Regions from separate parts of the Homo sapiens genome. Here region 2 is linked to region 1. The links are contacts of gene promoters, found by promoter capture Hi-C in human tissues and cell types (Jung and others, 2019). All regions are on one chromosome and are shown on one strand. Each heading gives the region's core, a stretch centred on a gene start or on the middle of the fragment in contact. The rest is flanking DNA. Distances are from core to core; before and after follow the strand shown.

The links. Contacts are between HindIII fragments. The study calls those that stand out against the background at their distance.
Region 2: a fragment that was not itself captured here is called in contact with the fragment with the promoter of RNF183 in region 1 in 1 of the 25 tissues and cell types used here (spleen).

Annotation. Positions count from the first base shown.
Region 1 is chr9:113,300,211-113,306,305 of GRCh38, forward strand. RNF183 (ring finger protein 183) reads right to left here and starts at 3,166. Exons shown (of 5, transcript NM_001371237.1): 1 at 2,846-3,166; 2 at 1,985-2,103; 3 at 1,462-1,541. RefSeq lists an enhancer at 5,437-5,606. The HindIII fragment of the contact is 15,296 bases long and covers 2,491-6,095 here.
Region 2 is chr9:113,600,329-113,606,331 of GRCh38, forward strand. No RefSeq gene overlaps it. Among named protein-coding and RNA genes, the nearest start is that of RGS3, 140 kb to the left of the region's middle. RefSeq lists an enhancer at 1-4 and a silencer at 1,905-1,984. The HindIII fragment of the contact is 8,415 bases long and covers 1-6,003 here.

The DNA.
Region 1 (6,095 bases), core at 1,916-4,415:
ATGAAGATATGCAGAGGGAGATGGAGCCCTAAGCGAAACTAGGGTAGTTTAGCAGGGCTCTGCACCAGTGCTTTATTCTGCAGTCCATTCATCCACTCGGACATTATTGAGTGCTTACTCTAGCCCAGGTGCTGTGCAAGGTATTATGGTGAACAAAATAGACATTGTCTTTGACCTCATGACATTTAGAGTGTAGTGAGGCAAAAAGACATTTAATGAATAATGGGCAATAAATAAATACACAATTTTAATGGTTGTTAATAAAGGGCAAAAAGGAAAATGGGCTTCGGGTGCTTGGTGGCTGCTCCCAATGAGACCACCAGAGAAGGTTTCTGCAAAGAGATGACAGAAGAGCTGAGACCAAAGTATATAGGAATCCAGCCACGCACAGTGGAGGAAGAGCGTTGCAGGCCCAGGGAACAGCATGTGTGGCCCCGAGGTGAGAAAAGCTCTTCCAATTTGAGAAAGTGAAAGGAGCCCAGGGTGATCAAGGTGTGGTGACCGGAGTAGGCAAGGTGGGAGGGTATAGTACTCGGGACCTGTGAACTCAGGAGCTCATCTGGATTTTATTCCAGGGGTGAGCGGTAGGGTAAGGTACCTGATCCTATTTCCATTTTTAAAACACCATTCTAGCTGCAGAGCAGAGGACAGGCTGAGAGGGATAAGATCGGGAAGGGAACACCCGTTCGGGCTGCAGCAGTGTGGCTCAGGCGTGTGATGGTGGTGCAGGTTAGGCAGTGGCAGAGGAGATAAAAGGGGATGGGATAAGTGATATCTTTGGGGACAGAATCAAAGCCACTTCCCAAGAAGCAGTGGAGTTCTAGGGATCCAGTTGTAGTTTCTGTCAAGGTTCATGATGCCAGATCCATGGCTATTTAGGGCTGTGATTCCAGTTGAATTGCTTGACCTCTCTGTGCCTCTATTTCTCCTTGTGCAAAGGAAGCCAAAACTAGTAAAGCTTTTAGTTAGAGCCCAGCACCCAGTAAAGACCACAAAGCAATGCATGACCTAAAAATGGGACTATGTTCTCAGAAACACATCGTTGTATGAACAGCACAGAGAGTATTTACACAAACCTAGATGGTAGAGCCTGCTACATGCCTAGGCTATACGGTCTAGCCTGTTGCTCCTAGGCTACAAACCCATACAGCTTATTATGTTCTGAACACTGTAGGCAATTGTAACACAATGATAATTGCGTGTGTCTTTCAACATAAACTTAGAAAAGGCAAGGTAAATATATGGTATTATAATCTTAGGTGGCCACCATCACATATGTAATTCACTGTTGATCAAAACATTGTTATGGATATATGAGGCAGTTGAAATTATTAATGCAAATGGATTTGAGAGAAAGGAAGGGTCAAGGTTGATTTCAAAGCCGTGACAAAGTCCTCTGCATCAAGCTTTGAGAAGCCCCTGAATCCCAGAGTGTGTTAGAAGCAGATCTTTAATACTTACCAGAGGCCGTAAACTGTATGTAACCTTGACTCATCATTTCCCCCACTGGGAATCGATTCCACGGAAACCATCAAGGACTTCTGCAAAGATGTGAGTAAAGAGATGCCCATCCAGGCGCTGGTTTAACGGTGACGTATGGAGAACTACGTCATCATCCAGTAATAGGACATTGATTAAGTAGATTCTGCTCCATCCATAGGAAGAGATATTATGCAGCCTTTAATATGATGTGGTAAAACTATTAATATGGATATATACCTAGGATATAATGTCATTAAGCGAAAAAGAACCAGCAACAAAACCATATTACCATATAATCCAATTTCCAAAAGTGTGTGTGCAATGGAAAAAATGTCTGGAGAGATAAACAACCAGATATTAGCAGTGGTTATCTCTGGGGGCAAGATTATAAGTTTTTTTTTTTTTTTTAATTCTCTTACCTGAAAATTCTAACTTTACTCCATCCAGTAAGCTTGTATTACTACACGTCAAGATCTCCTGTTTCCCCCCAAATCAGACCTACCTTCTCTGAAGTTCCATGGCCAGAACTGTAAAAGGCTGTCCAAGAGGAGGAAGCATCATTATTGCCTGGATCTTTATCTGTGCTGCTCTCCCAGGGATCCACTGCTGTTTCAGGATCAGCTGGGGAGAGATTCTGGCCATGTATCACCTCCACCCCAAGCCAGGACATCTCAGCTACAGTAAATCCTAAACACCGCCCCAAAGTCATCTCCTTGGTCTATGAACAAGTCATCGCCAAATATCAATTGTCCCCAGCATCACTCCATTGTTTTCAACCAAGAACTGGCATTTCCATAGCACTTCACAGTTTACAAAGGGCCCTGGCCCTTGCTAAGATCTAAGTGTGGTGATCCATCTAGATAGGTTACTAGCCTTTTGGGATTTTTTGTTGTTGTTTGCAGAAAGCCATTTGATACTCTAAAACCACCCTGTGAGAGAGGCTGAATGGGGAGTAGAAAGGTGCCGGCTTTGGAACCAGATTTGGAACAATTTGTCTTGGACAAATGGCTTAACCTCTCTGAACTTCATTTTCCTCTGTAAAAAAGGCTAATCATCCCACTCCTACAAGGTTGCTCTGGGGAAGGAATAGTCTATACGGTGCCCAGTAGAATACGGAAGGCGCTCAATACAGAGTTAGCATGATTATTTTTAGACCCATTTTCTAGATGGGGAAGCCAAGGCTCAGAAGGGTGAGGCAACTTGCCGAAGTCTTCCCAGCTAAAGAGTGGCTGAGTTTGAAAGATGAACCCAGTAGCCTGCCCTCCCAGGCCAGAGTTCACCTGTCGCGCGCTGCACGGCTGCTGCCTCTCTGGACTCTGGAGCCCTGTGACCCGTCCCTCCGCGACCCTCTCTGTCTCCTTACCTGCTCCCTCGGAGCCGCCTCCTCCGCCTCCGTTCGTGCAGCCCTGCACGCATGTGCTTTGTTTTCTGACTTCCCAGGCCCGATTTCCAGGTAGCGTGGGTGGGTCTTATTTGCATAGGTCTTAGCAGCGTTTGGCCAGCTCTCGCTGTTTCAGGTTTTCTTCTTCCTTCTGGTGACTTTGGACCTCCTGTACACCCTGGAAGCTTTGGTTGCTTTGTCTTTCTCCTGTGAGTCACTCTGGCTTTTTCTCTGAGGGGATCAAGTGCGCTCATCCTTGCAGGCCTCTGTTCTGGGTCCGATTGATCTCCTGCCATCCCCTCGGATTCCACTGTCCTCTGTGCGCTGACCTGCCTCGACTCCTGGCTTCTGCCGAGATGGATCCTTCCCTATGCTGAGTCCCTGTAACCAAAATACAGATAGCTCTTGCAAAATACTGACAAAAGCGGCCACTAATACAGCAGAAAAATAGTCGGGAGACGGTTGAGCGTCTGCCTGAAGAGCCAGGGTTCTCAAGCAAGGCACACTTCTAGGTCAGAGTTCAGCCCTCACTGAGAATCCAAACTCCGTTTAACTACCGATGGAGACTTGAGCAAATTAATTAACTTCTGCCAGCCTCAGTTTCCTCACCTGAAAATGGCCATAATAACCTACCTACTTGATCTGTAGATTAAATGAGGTAATACGTGTCGAGATCGCGTAATAACACAGGGCCTGGCAGACAGTAACTCGCTAAATGTTAACCAGAACTATTATTGTTATAACCGGTCTGTTCACGTGGCCCATCTTTTGTTCCCGCTCAAATTCTTTTTGTACCTATGGTCCTCTTTTCTTTCTCTCTCTCTTTCTTTCTTTTTTTTTTTCTTTCTTTTTTTTTTTTTTTTTTAAGACGTAGTTTTGCTCTGTCGCCCAGGCTAGAGTGCAGTGGGGCGATACTGGCTCACTGTAACCCCCACCTCCCTGGTTCCAGCAATTCTCCTGCCACGGCCTCCCGAGTAACTGGGACTACAGGTGCGCGCTACCATGCCCGGCTAATTTTTACATTCTTAGTAGAGACAGGATTTCGCCTTGTTGGCCAGGCTGGTCTCAAACTCCTGACCTCAGGTGATCCACCTGCCTCGACCTCCCAAAGTGCTGAGATTACAGGCATGAGCCACCGCGCCTGGCCCCTTATTTCTTTACTGACATTTTCAGCCATACTTGAGAAATAAACAAGTAAATAAATGTATCTGCTTGGTGATGTAATCAAATGCCCTAGTCCCCGCATTTTGTGTTTTTTTACATTAATTTTTATGTATTGATTTATTTTGAGACAGAGTCTCACTCTATCATCCAGGCTGGGGTGCGGTGGCACGATCACAGCTCACTGCAGCCTCAACCTCCTGGGGTCAAGCAGTCTTCCCACCTCCGCCTCCTGAGTACCTAGGACTACAGGTGCATGCCACCGTGGCTGGCTAATTTTTGTATTTCTTGTAGAGATGGGGTTTCTCCAGGTTGCCTAGGCTGGTCTCAAACTCCTGGGCTCCAGCAATCCACTTGCCAAAAGTGCTAAGATTACACTTGAGCCACCGTGCCCACATTTGATTTTTAAATAGGTAATATATTTACATGGTTGAGCATGTGAATGGTTTGATTTCACAGTGAAAACTGTCTCTTCGCAGCCACCTAGTTTCCCTGGAAATCAAAGTATTATACTATCAGTTTGTTGTGTATCTTTCCAAAGATGTTTTATACATACACAAACAGCATGTCCATGGCAAAACATCTATGTATTCCTTTACCTCCTTTTTACACAAATGTGCATATTATGTACACTGTTCTGCATTTTTCTTTTTTCATTTGATGATGTATTTGAGATATCATTCTGTATTAGTACATAAAGACCTTCTTCGGTTTTTGGCCCAGCGCTGTGACTCACACCTGTAATCCCAGCACTTTGGGAGGCCAAGGCGGGTGGATCACTTGAGGTCAGGAGTTCAAGACCAGCCTGGCCAACATGGTGAAACCCCGTCTCTACTAAAAATACAAAAATTAGCCGGCGTCATGGTGCACACCTGTAGTCCCAGCTACTCAGGAGGCTGAGGCAGGAGAATCGCTTGAACCTGGGAGGCAGAGGTTGCAGTGAGCTGAGATTGTACCACTGCACTCCAGCCTGGGCGACAGAGCAAAAAAAAAAAAAGAAGACCTTCTTCGGTTTTTTAATGGTTGTATCAGATTTCATTGAATGGCTGTACCATAAATCACTTCACCAATCCCCTATTGATCTAACCCCCTCATTATAAATATATAAATATTGAATGAAAGAATAATGCAAAAATGCTGATTTTAAGTTAGCCTAGAATTGTGTGAAAATAAAACTGTGGACTTTGGGAAGTTTTAGATCTCTAAAGAAAATGTCTAAGTAATTCTCCTCTTTCTGAGCTGGAGACGAGGTATATGATCACCGATGGCCTCAAAGTTCCTCTCAGCTCTGGAATTCCCTGCTTTTCGGTGTCACTACTGGTTAACTGAGGTTACTGGGGATTCGAGACACTGATTTAGTCCAAAGAACCTGGTTTGTATTTGAGAGTTTGGAAGTCACGCTTTCTGGCTTGGCAACATAAGAAAACATAAAGAAGTTCATCTACTTTGACCTAATCATGTAATTCCCCAGAAGCATCAAAAAGATATATTTTGGTTGAGTGAGGATATTCATTGCAGTTTTATTTTAATCACAAATGATTGAAAACACTCCAAAACCCCATCAATTAGGTGAAAAACTACATAATCATTTAAAATGATATAGAAAGATTTTCATTGACTTTTAAAAATGGTCACAGTATACTGTAAATGGAGGGGGAAAGCAGCTTAAAAATGGTGCATGTTGGCCGGATACGGTGGCTTACGCCTGTAATCCCAGCACTTTGGGAGGCCGAGGCAGGCGGATCACAAGGTCAGGAGTTTGAGACCAGCCTGGCCAATATGTTGAAACCCCGTCTCTACTAAAAAATACAAAAAAAAAAAAAACTTAGCTGGGCGTGGTGGCAGGTGCCTGTAATCCCAGCTACTTGGGAGGCTAAGGAGGCAGGAGAATCGCTTGAACCTGGGAGGCGGAGGTTGCAGTGAGCCGAGATTGCACCACTGCATTCCAGCCCAGGCAACAGAGAGAGAATCCATCTCAAAAAAAACACAAACAAACAAACCAAAACCAAAACAAAACAAAACAAAAAAACGGTGCATGTTGGCTGGGCACATGCCTATAATCCCAGCACTT
Region 2 (6,003 bases), core at 1,306-3,805, 300 kb after region 1:
TGCGCATTGGCACTTACCCCAGAGTTGCAATGACTAAGCGAGGTCGTGCATGCAACAAGTTTAGTTCAGTGCATGGCGTGGGGTAGGTGCTTCATAACCGTGAGCTGCTGTTAGCGATCTCATTATTCAAGGTCACAGGTCACATTCTCCACTTGCCCAGGCCTGAGAAGATGGGGGGGGCCTTTGGTCTCAGACCCCAGATCCTTGTCCTTCCAGGAACAGTTTTGCTGGAGGACAAAGCCAGCCAATTCCAGGGAGTAAGTGAGAAACAGCCTGTTCCCGTACTGCTGCCCAGTCTTGGCCCTGCTGGGAGCAGTTGGGGTCAGCTGGCAAATAGGTTGTGGTGGGTGGAGAGGCAAGAGGGCACAGCAGTGCCACTCAGTTGGATGCCAGCAGGAGGGGGTGCCACTCAGTTGGATGATAGCTGCCGAGGTGCCAACTGCAGCCAGGCTCCTGGTGGGAGAGTCAAGTCCCTCATGCTCTCGGCCTCTGCCATGTGAGTGACGTGCTCTCTTGACCTGTCTTGGGCCAGCTATGACCTCCCAGACTCTCCAGCTTGGAAGAGACCATTGAGTCTAAACTGCTGCCCAGCACTTAGGACCCCAGAGTTTCTGCTTGATTCCTTCCATGATGGAGCTCAGGAGGGCCTGGGAGCCCCTTGGGGGTTCCAAAGTTCTCTCCATCTGAAGTCGGGTCCTGGGGCAGGGTGGGGAAGGAGGGATAGGTTAGTCCTACCCCTGCAGGTCTCCTGCCCAGGCAGCCACCTCTGGACCCACCAGATTCTCCAGCTTCACTCCTCCCTGCTCCTCTCGCTTGCACCAAACTCTCAGCTCCCCACCCTACCTCCCTGCCTCTGCACCCCCTTGTCCCTTAACCTACTGTCCCCTCCCCAAACTCTTCCCACTGACATCCCACCCCTGAAGGCCTCTCTGCTTCACCTCCCTTCCTGCCCAAACCTCAGGCTCCTGGCGACTCCTCCACAGCCCCACCGCTCCCTCAGAGCTCTCAGGCCCTCAAGCAATGGACCTGACAGGGGTCTCAAAGAAGCCACCTGTTGGTTGTTGTTTTGCTAACAACTGGCAACATTTGTGGAACATCTGGCTTTGCCTGTCCTCTCCCTAGCCAGGGAAGGGAGGAGGAAAGTGGTGCCCCCTTCCTTGGGTGGGAGGAGGCAGTGGGGGATTGAGGAACAGCTGTGGGACTGATCCCATCTGCCGGGTACAGAAGAGAGTGGAGGCATGGCTGGGGGTGGGGAGGGCAGTGCCAGGTGGCAGGTAGATATAGGAGCCAGGACCACGCAGAGGCACACACCACGCATTCCATGCCTCATTGCCATCGATCCTCACAAAGCCCTGGGAGGAAGGGCTGAGTATTATTTTCAGTTTACAAATGAGAAAATTAGGGTTCAGAGAAAGTGGACAGCCCATCATGGCTGAACAGGGATGGGGACCTCTATCCCTGACTTCCAGGCAGCCTCAGCCAGGGCTTTCCAAAAGAATCCACACCTGCAGCCAGTCTGTGAGACTTAGTGGTTCAGCTGGAGTTGCAGATGGGGGCTTTTGATGCTGGTTCTCTTTGGCTTGTGGGCAGAATTTTTCTAAGGAAGTCCGAGGAATAGGTGAGTTTATGAATGTGCGGATGTCCGGTCCTGCAAGGAATCTCAGTTCTCAGAACTGTGTGACAAGTTGCTTTACCTCTCCGAGCCTCTGTTGTTTTAACTATGAAATGGGAATAATAATTCCACCTCCTGGGACTCGCGTGGACTTGGCAGGTTTACGAATATGTGTGAACCCTCAGCACAAGGCCAGGCACAGAGGGAGTGTGCCCTGCGGGGCAGAGGGAGGGAGGCTGGTCCAGGAGGCACTGTCGGGCCAAGCCCCAACCAGCTGTGCAGGAGGAAGCTGCCCCCGCATCTGCTCCAAGGCAGTGACTCAATGACACGACATGGGCAGGGCCCCAAGGGGGCGGGGTTTGGGCCCTAGGTTCCACATGGGCTCAGCGGGGTCCTGCCTGCCTGCTGTTTCAAAGGCAACCAAATAGCATCTGCCTCATCAGGTAGCTGGCCTGGCAGTCAGGAGTTCTGGGCTTTGAGCTCAGATCTGTCCCAAACCTCTGTGTGACCCTGGATGAGGCCCCTCTCTGCTCTGGTCCTTGGCTTCTTCTCTTGACACACAAGGAGAATCCAGCTTTTCCTCCTGCGTGAGGACCTTCGGAAGGGGCAGATGGTGCTCTGTGGGGGTGTGGGGGGCTGGGATCCAGGCCAAGCTGCCTCTGTACGCGGCGGGGTGTGTGTGCACGTGCGTGCGTATGCACAAGTGTATGTGAGCTGTGTATTCGAGTTGCTAGGGCTCTTTTTAGCTGCTTCCCAGGGGACTGGAAGGCCTACTTGGATGGAGCAGTCTGTTTATCAAGGAGCTCCACAGTCTACAGGGTTCATGCCCCTGGGGACACTGCCCTCTGTGTCCTCCAGCCAGGCTGGGGACCTGATCTGCTGGTTTTTCACAAGCTCCTGCCCTTGAGGCAAAGTCCATCCCCACTTTTTACCCCCAGCACACACAAACACAGCACCTGCTGGAGCCACCCCTCTCAGGGGATTCAGCTCAGTTTGCTATCCCCAGGGAGATATAAAAAAGAAGGGCCTGAACAAGGCACAGCCGATGCCCGCCCCCAGACTGGAGGGGAATACAGCCTCCAGTCTGGGAATATAAGTCCAGTTCCACTGCCGATCTGTCTGTGGCAAGTCCCTTTCCTCGCTGGGCCTCACTTTCCCCATCTTAAAAATGGGTGGGGCGTGTTCAAAGTGCTCTCTAGGAGCCATCCGACTCTGATGCCTCAGGCTGTATAGCTTTTCCTTCTGAGGTGCTATTGCAGCAGGAACTGGCTTGCTCTCGAGTTCTGTCCATTCCAAGGAAGGGGAGGGTGGTAACTGGGGGCTTGGGCTTTGGAGGCTGACAGACCTGGGCTTGAGTCCAGGTTCAGATGATTCTTTATTGCGTGACCTTCGGCAAGTCGCTTAACCTCTCTGGGCCACTGTTTCCACATTTATAAAGAGTTAAAGAGATTATAACCAGTTAATAATAGGTGTTACCTAGTACAGTTGTTGTGATCAAATAAAAGCAGGGGTGAACTATTTGCATTCAGCCCTGCTGGTCTGCCTTCTGGTCCTCGAATGCACCACGCTTCCTTCCATTTGGGGCCTTTCACGTGCAGTCCTCCCTCCCTGGAACACTCTTTCCCCTGCTCCCTTAGTTAATGACGATGAGGAGGAGGAGGATGAGGATGATAGCTAACATTTAATATTTTCCAGGCACTGTGCTAAGTACTTGACTGACATTTTCTTTTTTTATGCTCCCCAAAATCCTGGGAGTTAAGAGCTATTATTATTAATCACTACAGCCTAGTGCCCCGAGGCCAGGCCTGAGGACAGATTGCTCAGGGGAACTCCCAGCTCTTCCACTTAGTTGTGTAAACTCGGGCAACTTACTTCACTTTCTGGGTCTCAGTTTACCCAGTACTCAGTATCAGGCTGGGCTTGCTCTGAAGCCTGTGCTCTTGAGTAGTAGGCTGTATTCCTCCCCCTCTTCTCCAGAGCTTGGTTTAGATGTCACTGCCTCAGGGAAGCCTTCCCTGATAACCCTGACTATAAGAGGGCCCCTGCTGACTGCTCCCAAAGCCTCCTGCTCCTCCTCTTTCATGGCTCTTGTCACAGGTTGTAATTACACACACGCATATGTTCATTCATCGCTGTCTCTTCCTTTCAAGCTTAAGCCCCTTGGGGCAGGAACCCTGTCCGTCTTCTCACTGTATCCCCAGGCTTATCAATCACAGTGCCTGGCGCATGGTAGGTGCTTAATAAATACTTATTTATTGGATAAAAGGCCATATATTGCTTAGCATGGTGGGTTGCACAGGACAAGCCCATGAACAAAAAGTCTGGATAAGAAGCCACTGCATGAGTAAAGATTGAGTTCTGTTGTAAGTGACAAAAACACAAGGTAGAAGTTTCTCTCTCTCCCATAAAGGAAACTCAGGTAGAAGCAGCCTAGTGCTGGCATGGCCTTTTCGTGATCATCAGGAACCCTGATTTTGTCTGTTACTTTGCCGTCCTCAAAATGTAGCTTCCACTTCCTGTCCAAGATGGCTGCTTGAGCTCCAGCCATCACGCAAGGCTGGAGGCCAAGAAAGAGGGGGTAAAAGGTAAATTGCAGTTATGTCTTAGAGAAGGTGCTCAGAAACTGTCACATGACACTTTCCCTTACACCCCATTGGCCAGAACTGAGCACATGGCCACACTTGTTTAGAAGGAGGCTGGGAGCAGTGGCTCACACCTGTAATCCCAACACTTTGGGAGGCCGAGGTGGGAGGATCACCTGAGGCCAGGAGTTTGAGGCCAGCCTCACTAGGAGCCTCACTATGGATAACATAGTGAGACCCTGTCTCTACAAAAAATAAAAAACTCAGCCAGGCATGGTAGTGAACTCAGGAGGTTGAGACGGGAGAAACCCTTGAGCCCAGGAGTTCAAGACTGCAGTGAGCTATGATGGTGCCACTGCACTCAAGCCTGGGTGACATAGTGAGACCCTGTCTCTGAAAATAAATAAGTAAATAAATGAGAAGAGGGAAAGCTGAGAAATGTAGTGTTAATCTAGACAGCCATGTGACCAGATAAAAATCAGAGGTTCTGTTACTCTGGGGTAATACAAAGGCTGAGCAGATGTTGGGGACGACTAGCTGTCTCCGCCACTGTCATCAATGACAGACATCCATTCTCGTAAGGCTATGGAGAGGAAGTGGGGCAAGTGGGCATGTGTCAGTTAACTATTGATACAACAGTGCTGCAAAACAAACCACCCCAGGCCGGGCGCAGTGGCTCACGCCTGTAATCCCAACACTTTGGGAGGCCGAGGAGGGGGCGGATCACTAGAAGTCAGGAGTTAAACACCAGCCTGGCCAACATGGTGAAACCCTGTCTCTACTAAAATATAAAAATTAGCCAGGTGTGGTGGCACACGCCTGTAATCCCAGCTACATGGGAGGCTGAGGCTTGAACCCAGGAGGTGGAGGTTGCAGTGAGCCAAGATTGCGCCACTGCACTCCAGCCTGGGCGACAAAGCAAGATTTCATCTCAAAAATAAGTAAATAAGATAAATAAATAAATAAATAAAACCCACCCCAAAATACACTGGCCTCAAATAACAATAACTTATTCTCTCTTATGCTTCTGTAGTCAACCGACCTAGGAAGAGCTGGGTGGGACATGACCCCTCCCTGTGGGCTGGGCTCAGAACTACTCACTGTAACTTTTCCTGGAGGCAGAAGGGTCAGGGTCTACCTGGGGAAAGTTCTCACTGCAGTGAAAGCACGTGTGTGTTTTTTAAACTTTTAAAGTTTAAAATAATTATATATTCACAGGAAATTGCAAAGATAGTATAGCGAGGTCTCATGTACCCTTCACCTAGTGTGCCCCAATGAACACATCTTACATAATTATAGTACAATATCAAAAATTGAAATTGACATTGGGACAATACGTATGTACAGTTCTATGTCATTTTATCACCTGCAGATTTGTATAAACACCACCGCAATCAAGACATGGAACTATTCCATCACCACAAAGACCTCCCTCGATACCCTTTTATAGGTACACCCATTCCCCACCCCTAACCCCTCGCAACCACTAATCTGTTCTCCATCTATGTAATTTTGTCATTTCAAGAATGTGATATAAATGGAATTGTACAGTATGTGACCTTTTAAGATTGTCTTTTTTCACTCAGTATAACGTCCTTGAGCTTCATCCAAGATGTTGTGGGTATCCTATTTATGTTGCGTTCAATCCTATTTATTGCTGAGTAACATTCTGTGGTATGGATGTACAACCGTTCGTTTAGCCATTTGCCTCTTGAGGGACATTTTGGTCATTTCCAGTTTGGGGCTGTTACATATAAAGCTGCTGTGAACTGTTGTGGAGAGAGTTTTGTGTGGATGTAACTTCTCATT